Linked DNA regions of Homo sapiens: regions 1 and 3 are each linked to region 2. The links are contacts of gene promoters, found by promoter capture Hi-C in blood cells and fetal thymus (Javierre and others, 2016). All regions are on one chromosome and are shown on one strand. The core of a region is centred on a gene start or on the middle of the fragment in contact, and the rest is flanking DNA. Distances in the headings are between cores, read along the strand shown. Region 1 has its middle 28 kb from the start of KLRF1. Region 2 holds the start of CLEC12B (C-type lectin domain family 12 member B). Region 3 has its middle 21 kb from the start of CLEC7A.

Region 1 (4,151 bases), core at 1,147-3,646, 210 kb before region 2:
TTTGAGCTGGTTTCAGGATTTTAGACCTCTGTGAATAATTTTTTTTCTTCTTTTTTACGAGTATTCCAACCACATTTTTGGGGGGAGCAGGCATATTCATTTTGCTGTTGAAATTATGGCAAAAACTGCAATGACTTTTGCACCAATCTAATACATGCTGTCGTTTACAATTAGGTAGCTTTCAAAAGGCAGGGGCCGGCGATCAGCCTTTTATGCATCTAATCTTGGGTAACAAGGACTGGCTGTAATGAACTGTAATGATAACTCCATTATAACTTCAGCTAAAGTATGTGTTGCATATTGTTTTCTTCGTAAATGTTAAACAGGAAGTAAGCATCATTTAGGACAAGGAATTCTCAGAAAAAAAAAATAAACACCACATTGAACGTTTACACAAATTTTAGTGGAACTTACTTTGGCGCAATGCCTAACAGAGTAAGTTACTAACTCTCTTTTTTATTCCTTAAAGAAAGAAAGAAAATAAATGAATTTACAGTAATGTTGGAGTTTTCAGGCCTATTGAAGATTTGGGATAGATTGTGCTAGAACAGATTGACATTGACAGATTTCAAGTTCCTTTTGCAAGTTATTTTACTTTGTATTTTAAAGAGGCAATATGTTTATAAAGCAATCAAATTAGCCTATTTGTGGCATATAAACTTTTTATATAATAAAGCTGGGAAAAAGAAACTCTAATTTCTTTACCAGCTTGAGGGCAATTGACTCTAATACAAGAGGGTTCCTAATCATTAACATATATGTTTATTTGCATTCATAAACTTGAAATGCATATTCAGTTGTCTTATTTGGTATTTAATAGTAGGGGGATATCCTAAATCAAAATTACTTTAATTTATATAATTGTAATCATTTCAATGTTTTTGGAGGGGGAGATAATCCTAAAAACTAAAATTTAAAAGATGAAACTATTCATTATTCCTGCTGTATAACAGATGGTGAATGCAGGCACATAATAATAGGCAGTGTGGCAATACTGAGCACAATGACCAGATCAGGACAGATGCTTAAAAATATTTTAAAAAAATAATTAGAGTAATTGTTTTGTATGACTCGAAGAAAGAATCGGGTTAAATAATAGAGGGCACAGGGCCAGCGAATTAAAGCACATCACTTGATTTTGTGTTTCAAATAACTGCCTTGGAGTAAATGAGCTCCTCAGACCAATTTCTGACACAAGGCCTACACCTCACAGCCTTCCTGTTCTTCTGCATTCCTGCAAGGGCTCTTGCACGTAGACCTTCAGTTCGCTTGTGAACTGTTGCTCTCTAGTGGTGGTGTGAGGCCTTAAGGAAACACCTGCTACTGTGTGGTCAGGAGGTAAAGTGCTGGGCTCTCATATTGTCCTCCCTGTAAACACCTTCCTTTCTGCGTTTGGACACCTTCACCAGATTCTATTTTCCATTTGATCATTAGTCAAACACTTATTAGACAAACAAGTGGGCCAGAAACTGACAGATGTTAGAAATACACAAATAAAAGTTATAGACTCTTCTATTTCATGTGTTTCATAAAGTATTAATGGTATATAAATTAAAAAATAGAAATTAGGTAAGAATAACCTCCATCACCGATATTTGACATTTCCTTTCTCAATTATAAATCATTGATCTTAAGTTATTGTTCTTTCAATATCTGAAACATTCTAGGTATTAAATTGATATTGAGTGAGTGAATGAGTGAAAGAATGAATGCGTGTATGGTAGAAGCTATTTTGGGGAAAACGGTCTTCAATGCTCAGGTATTATTAAGAGCAAAGCTGCTTTCTCTATCTATGTAGTGTTTATGACCAAGAGAAAAGGCTTAGATATATGAGCAGAAACAGAGGATTTTGCAGTTTATTTTCTAAACTTTGGTCTTTTGTACTTTATGTGAATGTTCAATCACATGGTTTTAATATATTTTTCATATATGTTTCAACTTTGTATGATGTGAAATCACAGAAATTATATCATCTGTTGTATTTTATTATATAATATCTATTTTTTGATCCCATAGAAGTACCAGGGTGTTTTTTTTTTTCCTTTCAGGGGTCATTGTTTGCATAAAAAGAAAAAAAAAACTAATTTAACTAGATATTTAAGTGATTTGCAAAGCAGTGTGTTTCCAGCTGTTGAAGGACTAAGGTTTTAAGAGAGTATAGAACCGATTGTACTACTCATTAGTCTAGGTAAAGCTTGTGTGGAGAAACAGCTCCATGAAGTCAGATTTGAGGCCTCTAAGTCCTAGCCCCAGAATTTTACTATCTCTAGGTAACTTTGGAGAATAATATGATTCTTCTTATGTTTCTATTCTTCGTTTTCAAACAAGGTTAACAATCTAAGCTGCAACTAAAGTGTGATAAGAGGTTCTAATGATATAATGCATGTAGAATACATGTAGAAATCACTTCATGTTTGAATTACCACTACCAATGCTCAATCAGAAAAAGTATCTTAATATCCACCTTTGTCTTGTCAATTTGTTCCCTTTCTGTTCTATCAGATGTAGTTCTAGAGATTTCTAAGCCTTGCCATCATACACTTTTTCTCTATATTTGAGCTTAGCCTGTATTGTAAATATAAAATCCTTTGAGGCAGTTGAAGCTTTTACTAATATCTTTATTCTCCAGTATCTAGCACATTAGCTGACAAGCAATAAGTTCTTGATTTATTAATTTATAATGTATAGGCATTTAATATTAACTTTTAAAATAATTAGACAATGAATATATAAATTCAGAGCACATATCCATTAAAGGCATGTAAGCAAACACATTACAAACATCTATAAGAAAAGGGCCCCATAATTATTTAAAAAAGTGATTATGTGATATTTTATAGTTTTGTGCCTCAAGAATATATTTTTTGCAGCTCATGTATTTTTAATATGCACACTTTTTATTTAAATCTTGTATTTTATTTAAATCTTTTATTTATTTAATTATTTAAACTACGCATTTTAAGGGTCTTCCATGCCTTTTCATAGCTTGATAGCCCATTTCATTTTAGTGATGAAGAATGTTCCATTGTCTGAATGTACCACAGTTTATCCATTCACCTACTGAAAGACATCTTGGTTTCTTCCAAGGTTTGGCAATTATGAATAAAGCTGCTGTAAACATTCATGAGCAGGCTTTTGTGTGGACATAAGTTGTCGACTCATTTGGATAAAGACCAAGAAGTGGGATTACTGGATTATATGGTAAGAATGTGTTTAGTTTTCTAAGAAACTGTCAACATGTTTTCCAAGTGGCTGTGCCATTTTGCATTTCAATCAGCAAAGAATGAAAGTCCTATTGCTCCACATCTTTATCAGCATTTGGTGTTGTTCATATTTTGGATTTTGACATTTCTAATTGGTGTGTAAATGTTTTCAAAGAAAATTTTAAATTTCAATAGCTTTTGGAGTACAAGTGATTTTTGGTCACATGGATGAATTTATATAGTGGTGAATTCTGAGATTTTATTACACTCATCAATCACCCAAGTAGTGCACTCTTTACCCAATATGTAGTTTTTTATTCCAAAACCCCTCCTATTCTTCCCCTTCTGAGTCTCCAAAGTCCATTATATCACTCTGTGCGCCTTTGTATACTCATAACTTAACTCCCACTTATAAGTGAGAACATATAGTAATTGGTTTTTCTGTAATAGCATGTTTTAATGTGAAATTACCTAATGACATATGATATTGATCATATTTTAATAAGGTTATTTTCCATTTGTATATCTTCTTAACAAGGTATCTGTTCAGATCTTTGGCCCATTTTTTAATCAGGTAATTCATTTTCTTATTGTTGAGCTTTAAGAGTTATTTATCTATTTTGGATTACAGTCCTTTATCTGATATGTCTTTTGTTAAGTATTTTCTTTTGGTCTGTGGCTTATCTTTTCATTTTTTAAAAAATTTTATTCATTTATTTTTAAGTTCCAGGATACAAGTGCAGAACATGTAGGTTTGTTACATAGGTATACGTGTGCCATGGTGGATTGCTGCACCTATCAACCCACTATCTAGGTTTTAAGCCCCACATGCATTAGCTATTTGTCCTAATGCTCTCCCTCCCCTTCCCCCCATCCCCTGACTGGCACTAGTGTGTGTTGTTCCCCTCCCTGTGTCCATGTGTTCTCATTGTTTAACTCCCACTGATG
Region 2 (4,270 bases), core at 290-2,789:
CGACAGAAACGGAACATGGAGGGGACAGTAAGGAAATAAAAGCTAGCCACCCCAGCCAGCAGCAGCAACCCGCTTGGGACCCCTTCCATGCTGTGGAAGGTTTGTCATCCTGCTCTTCACAATAAACCTTGCTACCACTCAGTCTTTGGGTCCGTGCCATCTTTAAGAGGTGTAACCCTCACCGCAAAGGTCCGCGGCTTCATTTTTGAAGTCAGCGAGACCAGGAACCCACCGGCAGGAACCAACTCCGGACACGGACCAGAACAGAGATAGAAAACCATTCTTAATTTCTTATTTTTGTAATCATCTATTTAAACTGGTCCTCATGTCAATGGTCTCTGCCTTTTCTGAATTCAACTAGAATAGTAAACATAAGCATAGATTTATTATTTGTTTCAATATTTTTGATAGTGGAGTTTTATTGATATATGACTTAGAGCCTCCAAACATTTTTTTGATTATTTCATCAATTTGAAAAAAAAAAAAACAAAAAACATGAACAAGTAACATATGTATATTTAGGTGTTTAGAGATCATGCACAGCGTTCCTAAAGAGAAAGTTTTTACATTGCCTTTCTGCATCTGCTTCACAGCTGTGGGGTGAGTGCACCTCACGCTGGACACCTTTGACTAAGATAATCTCCACACAGATATGAACCTTGGAAGTTTTAGATCACTCCCCACTCATCTGAAACCACAAAACTCATACCCAATCCTTCCCCTAAGTACAGTTATCTAATATTCTGCCTCTCCCCAAAGGAAAGCTTTAGAGGAGATTCCTTAATTTCGTCCCTCATATATAGCGCTCCCCCCCCATATTTTCCTGGGTTCTGTATTAACTACATATTGCTGCTGTAACAAATTACCACAGATGTATTAACTTCCGGTAGTTATCTTTTTAAAATCTTGTCCTGTGTATTCCTTGCTGTCTGCAGGATTATCCCATGGTTGTTGTTCTGTTAGGAACTTTCCCAACCATGCCAGAAGAGGGCACTCCCATTCATACTCACGTTAAGTAGCTAAGTAGCTATCAGTTTCTTCTCCATGCTCCATTACCAACACCATGTCTCTCTCTCTCTGTCTCTCTCTCTCTGTCTCTCTCTGTCTCTCTCTCACACACACACACACACACACACACACACACACACACGCTTGAATTTTCTATAATAGCAGCCAGGTGTGTGGCACAGCTCTTTCTGTCTTAATGTGTGTCTCTCTGCTTAATATCTAATGTGGCTGAGAATAAACTAGAACCAATGTCTCCAGGCAGATTAGCTAGCCTTAGATAGATGTAAAGAAGACAACCTGACTCTTTTCTGAAACATTCAGAGCATCCTCTACCCCGAGGATCATGGGAATTCCCTCATGTTCCTCCTGCTCTGCCTCAAGCACCCCTTCTTTGCTGCACAGCAAGAAACAGTTCTGACAGAGCAGACAGTTTGAGATCTGTAACATTCTAATGAGAATATCTCTAAGGAGAATATTTGGCTTTTCTCACTTTCTCTGTAGAGAAACAAATTGTCATTCTTCTCTTACAGAGGGGCAGTAGAGTGTGTCTGGGTCAGCTGAGTGACTACATCAAAGCTCCCAGCCTTGAAAAACACATGCTGTTCCCAGGCCTCAAGATATTGAAACATTAATTAGATAATTTAAAGTAGCGTTTTCTTCTACAATGTCTGAAGAAGTGACCTACGCGACACTCACATTTCAGGATTCTGCTGGAGCAAGGAATAACCGAGATGGAAATAACCTAAGAAAAAGAGGTAGGAGTTCAGAGAAGACCAGCTGTGTCCTTGGGGGAGTGGACAGGTGTTAAATGCTTTGAGGTGCCAGCTTTAATACTGGCGTTAAAGACATGTGCTGTGAAATCTCCAAAATGGGGACAAATAGTTGTGGAATGTATTAGAAAAGTGAGTGTTCCCAAGGTTGAAGTGAAAATATGTGGCTTTCAGAACCTCTTTAAAGTTGTGTGATATCACACAGTCAGAGAAATTCTGACTGCACATGCCAGAAATTGAGCTTGGGGAATTAGAGATTTCTTCTTATGAATATAATCCTTGATATTTATACCTTGTTAGAGATGCCAGGAGGATATTCTTTCAGAAACCAGATTGGAGGCTTCTAAAATAGAGAAGGTAGAGGACGTTTTTCTTTTAGATGATGTAAGTTACTTAAGAGAAAACTGGAAGATGAGTGAGTGGATTAGAAATAGATCAGAGCTAATTTTTCTTTTGTCAGTATTTTTTCAAATTTTAGGGTAGTTGAAATCCGAGCATAATTTGTAATGTTGAACCAGTAATAATAGTATCTGGGTAGTATTTTATGTACATTATATACAGATATAATTGTAATGAAAATCCACAATAATATTCGAATATTAGTATTTTCTCCATTACATAGATGAAAAAACTGAGGGTGAGAGAAATTAGATAATTTAAGCAAGCTCACACAACTGCTATGTGGGGAAGCCCAGTCTCAGTGCTGGTCTTCAGCTCATTCTCTTATGCCTAATTGGAAAAATAGCAGTCTCCATGGTCAAGACTCTGATTTAATATATAAGACCACATCTCTTATTTTCAGATATGTTAACTATCCAGGTTCTCCTGAATCATGTCAGTCATCTGAACTACTTTCTCCTGCCCTCTAGATTTATCTTTACATTTTGTGTGGTGCATGACATTTGAGGGAAGGATATTTACAAAAAGCCGATGGGAATAGACTTTGCATATGTCTAATAAATGTGGTTACACATTTTTGCCTTGTTTTGTTTTACTTTTTAATTCTAATTCTAACCTGTGAGGAAAAAGGAGGTGTGGATATGGTGCATATCACAGTGTACCTAGAGTCTGTCATGCTGTATCTAAAACATTGCGCTAGATGTTATTTGGACCTAAATCAAGGGATATGAAGCTAAGGAAAACATGACAACCATTGATATTTTAAACAACAACAATGACTAGGATGCTAACGGCTTTCTGGTCTATTCTGCTGTTTGTAGGTTAGACTGCACATTCTTTCCTTCTTTCATTCAGTATTCATTCATTATTTATTAGGTGATAAATAGCATGAATAATAGATAAGTTATTGTTAACAGGTAAAAGATACTTTAAAAAGTCGAATCCACTTTTACAAGGCAGATAGAACATGTGCCTTATAGAGACTTTTGAGCTCAAAAGCTTGAGGTGTCTCCTACTGTCAGCATCATCCAGAAAAGCAGTTTTTAGATCTCTCATTTATGAATTCAATAAACTTGAGGAAGAAAAGTGGGCAATGATGTAAAACAAAAACCTTGAAATTAGGAGAAGCTTCCTTTTTATTTTATTATTATTATACTTTAAGTTTTAGGGTACATGTGCACAATGTGCAGGTTAGTTACATATGTATACATGTGCCATGCTGGTGTGCTGCACCCATTAACTCGTCATTTAGCATTAGGTATATCTCCTAAAGGTATGCCTCCCCCCTCCCCCAACGAAGCTTCCTCTTAAAGTGAAGGAGAGCGGTGGAGAAATGGAGGGGAAACAAGGATGGCACCCTCATTGCACTTCATATTAGGTATTTTCTAAATGAGGGCATTAAAGAAGCAAGAAAGAAACGTTAGTATCGGGAAGCTCCCTAAGTGGGAGAAATAAACAAACCAAAGTGAAACAAGCACAAAGCAGTTCTGTGTGCTGATTGCTCTTTTGGCTTTCTCCAGGGCATCCAGCTCCATCTCCCATTTGGCGTCATGCTGCTCTGGGTCTGGTAACTCTTTGCCTGATGTTGCTGATTGGGCTGGTGACATTGGGGATGATGTGTAAGTATATCAGCATCAAACCCAACAAAGGCAACTAGAAAACATATTGTAAACCATGTACTTTCAGCTTGGATTGTAGATGGGTCCTAGCATCCTGAATCGTCTGATACTTTTCTGCTGTCTCATATCTCTCCTATTCGTCATATCTTCCCAAAAAACCGGCAAAAGACATTATCAGGATTTGGTTCTAAATTCATTGTTTTATCTTGATAAGCTAAACTGGACTTAGACAAAGACTCTTTGTTTCCAGTTATTCATTAGAATAAAGAGCCTCTTTTCTGCCTAGACACACATTCACTTATCATTCCAATGCTGAGAAATAAAGTCAAGAAATATGTATTGAAGGAAGTGCTTGCTATTTTTATTTACCTGAAAGACTTAACACTAGACTAGGTTCAGTCTGCTTACATGAAACTTCTCTAGTGGAGAGAAATCTTCCAAGTAGCAGCAGCAGCCTGATTTCTATGAATGAGA
Region 3 (4,229 bases), core at 1,066-3,565, 140 kb after region 2:
GCTAACTTTTGTATTTTTAGTAGAGATGGGGTTTCACCATGTTGGCCAGGTTGGTCTCGAACTTCTGACCTCAGGTGATCCACCCACCTTGGCCTCCCAAATTGCTGGGATTACAGGTGTGAGCCACCACACCTGGCCTAAATTTCTTATAGATTCTGGATTATTACACCTTTGTCAGATGCATACTTTACTAACATTTTCTCGTATTCTGTAGATTGTCTAATTTCTCTGTTGATAGTTTCTTTTGCTATGCAAACCTCTTTAGTTTAATTAGGTCCTATTGTTGATTACTGTTTTTGTTGCAATTGCTTTTAAAGATTTAGCCATAAATTATCTGCCTTAGCTGATGTTGAGTAGGGTATTTCCTCGATTTATTTCTAGAATTTTATAGTTTGAGGTCTTAAGTCTTTAATCCATTTTGAATCAATTTTTATGTGTGATGAAAGGTAGGGTTTCACCAGTTTCAATCTTCTGCATATGGCTAGCCAGTATATTCCAGCACTTTTACTGAACAGGGAGTCCTTTCCTATTGGTCGTTTTTGTCAACTTTGTCAAAGACCAGATAATTGTAGGTGTGCAACTTTATTTCTGGGTTCTCTATTCTGTTCCCTCAGTCTATGTGTCTGTTTTTGTACTACTATCATGCTCTTTGGGTTATTGTAGCCTTATAGTATAGTTTGAAGTTGGGTAACATGATGCCTCCAGTTTTGCTCTTTTTGCTTTGGATTGTTTTGACTATTCAGGCTCTGTTTTGGTTCTGTATGAATCTCAGGATTGTTTTTTCTAATTCTGTGAAAAATGATACTTGTAATTTGATGGTAATAGCATTGAATCTGTACATTGCTTTGGGCAGTATGCCATTTTAACAATATTGATTCTTCCAATCCATGGGCATGACATGTTTTTCCATTTATTTGTATTGGCTCTGATTTCTTTCAGCAGTGTTTTGCAGTTCTCCTTGCAGAGATCTTTCACCTCCTTGTTTAGTGGTACTCCCAATAATCATTTTATTAGTGGTTATTATAAGTGGGATTATGCTCTTAACTTGGCTGTCAGCTAGAATGTTACTGGTGTTTAGAAATGCTACTAAGTTGTGTACATTGATTTTGTATCCTGAAATTTTGTTAACATCATTTATCAGTTTTAGGAGCATACTGGCGAAGTCTTTAGAGTTTTCTAGGTATAGAATCATGTTGTCAGTGAAGGGAGATAGTCTGACTTCTTTTCCTATTTGGATACCTTTTAAGTCTTTCTCTTGCCTGATTGCTCTGGCTAGGATTTTTGGTACTATGTTGAATAGGAGTGGTGAAAGTGGACATCCTTATCTTGTTCCAGTTCTCAAGGGAAATTTTTCCAGCTTTTGCCCATTCAATATAATGTTGTCTGTGGGTTTGTCTTAGACGACTCTTATTATTTTGAGGTTATCTTTCTTTAATGCCTAGTTTGTTGAGGTTTTTTTTTTTAACCATAAGAAGAGGTTGGATTTTACTGAAAGCTTTTTCCATGTCTGTTGAGATGGGATCATATAATTTTTATTTTAAATTCTGTTTATGTGGTGAGTCACATATATTGATTTGCATATGTCAAACCAACCTTGAATCATAGATATAGCCTACTTCATTGTGGTTAATTAACTTTTTTTTGTATTATTAATTTTTATTCTTTTTAGAGACAGGCCTCGCTATGTTGCCCAGGCTAGTCTCGAGCTCCTGAGCTCAAGCAGTACTCCTGTTTCAGACTCCCAAAGTGCTGGAATTACAGGCATGAGCCACTGCACCCAACTGATTGTGGTGAATTAACTTTTTGATCTGCTACTGGATTTGGTTTGCTGGTATTTTGCTGAGGATTTTTGCATCTATGTTTATTGAGGATGTTGGCCTCAAGTTTTCTTTTTTGTTCTGTCCGAATGATACTGGCTTCATAGAATGAGTTAGGGAGGAGCCCTCTCCTCAATTTTTTGTAATAATTTCAGTAGAATTTGTACTACTTCTTCTTTGTCCATCTGCTATAATTCAGCTCTGAAGCCATCTTGTTCAAGACTTTTGTTGGTTGGTAGATTTCTTATTATTGTTTCAATTTTGGAATTTGTTATTGGTCTGTTCAGGTTTTTGCTTTCTTCCTGGTTCAATCTTGGGAAGTTATATGTTTCCAGGAATTTATCCATTTCCTCTAGATTTTTAATTTGCATAGAGATTTTCATAATGGTCTCTTAGGATCCTTTGTATTTCTGAGGAATTTGTTGTAATCTCATCTTTGTAATTTCTGATTGTGCTTATTTCTTTTTTTTATTAACCTACCTTATGGCCTATCAATCATGATTATTCTTTCAAAGAACCAGTTCTTGGTTTCATTGATCTTTCATATGGTGTTTTGCAACTCAATTTCATTCAGTTCCTGTTTGATTGTATTTTTATTTTTTATTTTATTTCATTTTTTTGAGACAGAGTCTCACTGTGTCACCCAGGCTGGAGTGCAGTGGCACGATCTCAGCTCACTGTGACCTCCACCTCCTGGGTTCAAGAGATTCTCATGCCTCAGCCCCCCGAGTAGCTGGGATTACAGGCATGCACCACCACACCAGAATAATTTTTTTTTTTTTTGAGACAGAATCTTGTTCTGTCACCCAGGCTGGAATGCAGTGGCACGATCTTGGCTCACTGCAACCTCTGCCTCCTGGGTTCAAGTGATTCTCCTGCCTCAGCCTCCTGAGAAGCTGGGACTGCAGGCAGACACCACCATGCTCAGCTAATTTTTGTATTTTTTAGTAGAGATGGGGTTTCACCATGTTGGCCAGGCTGGTTGTGAACTCCTGACCTGAAGTGATCCGCCCACCTCGACCTCCCAAAGTGCTGCGATTGCAGGCATGAGCCACTGTGCCTGGCCTAGAGTTAGTACTGATATGTGACATTGATCCTGTCATCATGTTCTTAGCTGGTGACTTTGTAGTTTCTATTGCATAGTTGCTTTATATTGTTGGTGGGCTATGTGGTTAAATGCATTTTTGTGATAGCAGGTATCATTCTTTCATTTCCATCTTTACAGCACTCCTATAAAGACGTCTTGTAAGGCTAGTCTAGTGGTAACAAATTCCCTTAAGCATTTGCTTGTCTGAGAAATTTATTTCCCCTTCACCAGTCAAGCTTAGTTTATCAGGACATAAATTTTTTGGTTGGAATTCCTTCTCTTTAAGAACACTGAAAATAGGCCCCAATCTCTTCTGACTCATAAGGCTTTTGCTTAGAGGTCTGCTACTAGCCTGATGGTCCTCATTTTGTAAACGACCTGACCCTTCTCTCTAGATGCCTTTACATTTTTTCTTTTGCATTAACCTTGATGAATCTGATAACTATGTGCCTTGGGAATGCTTGTTGTGTCTAGTATCTCATGGGGGTTATCTGTACTTCTTTTTTTTTTTTTTTTGAGATGGAGTTTCACTCTTGTTGCCCAGGCTGGAGGGCAATGGCACGATCTTGGCTCACTGCAACCTCTGCCTCCCAGGTTCAAGCGATTCTCCTGCCTCAGCCTCCCAAGTAGCTGGGATTACAGGCATGCACCACCATGTCCAGCTAATTTTTGTATTTTTAGTACAGACGGGTTTGCCATGTTGGCCAGGCTGGTCTTGAGCTCCTGACCTCAAGTGATCTACCCACCTTGGCCTCCCAAATGCTGGGATTCAGGCATGAGACAACACGCCAGGCCTTATATTTCTTAAATTTGTATGTTAACATCTCTAGTGGGAGTGGAGAGATTGTCATGGATCGTATCCTCAAATATATTTTCCAAATAGCTTACTCTCTCTCCTCTCTCAGGAATACCAATGAGTTATAGGTTTGGTCTCTCTATATAATTCCATATTTCTCAGGGCTTTTGTCCATTTTTTTAAAATTATTTCTTCTTTATTTTTGTCTGACTGAGTTGATTCAAAGAACCAGTCTTTGAATTTCTTCACAGCTTGGTCTATTCTGCTATTAATGCTTCCAAATGTATTATGAAATTCTTGTAGTAAATGTGTCAATTCCAGAAGTTCAGTATGGTTCGTTCTTAAAATTATTTTTTTCAGGCTGGGTGTGGTGGTTCACGCCTGTAATCACAGCACTTTGGAAGGCCAAGGCAGGTGGATCGCTTGAGGTCAGGAGTTCAAGACCAGCCTGGCCAACATGGCGAAACCCTGTCTCTACCAAAAAATACAAACAATTAGCCAGGCCTGGTTGTGTTCGCCTGTAATCCTA

What was found. The method cuts DNA at HindIII sites, captures the fragments that hold promoters and counts their contacts. A CHiCAGO score of 5 or more calls a contact.
Region 1: a contact is called between a fragment that was not itself captured here and the fragment with the promoter of CLEC12B in region 2, in 4 of 17 cell types (megakaryocytes, monocytes, M0 macrophages and 1 more). The highest score is 5.5, in megakaryocytes.
Region 3: a contact is called between a fragment that was not itself captured here and the fragment with the promoter of CLEC12B in region 2, in 7 of 17 cell types (M0 macrophages, neutrophils, monocytes and 4 more). The highest score is 9.8, in M0 macrophages.

What each region holds. Positions count from the first base shown.
Region 1 is chr12:9,796,930-9,801,080 of GRCh38, forward strand. It overlaps a transcript of KLRF1 not described here. Among named protein-coding and RNA genes, the nearest start is that of KLRF1, 28 kb to the right of the region's middle. RefSeq lists an enhancer at 1,125-1,224. The HindIII fragment of the contact is 409 bases long and covers 2,193-2,601 here.
Region 2 is chr12:10,009,088-10,013,357 of GRCh38, forward strand. CLEC12B (C-type lectin domain family 12 member B) reads left to right here and starts at 1,540. Exons shown (of 6, transcript NM_001129998.3): 1 at 1,540-1,763; 2 at 3,698-3,796. The coding sequence starts at 1,673. The HindIII fragment of the contact is 2,412 bases long and covers 763-3,174 here.
Region 3 is chr12:10,148,625-10,152,853 of GRCh38, forward strand. No RefSeq gene overlaps it. Among named protein-coding and RNA genes, the nearest start is that of CLEC7A, 21 kb to the left of the region's middle. The HindIII fragment of the contact is 1,645 bases long and covers 1,494-3,138 here.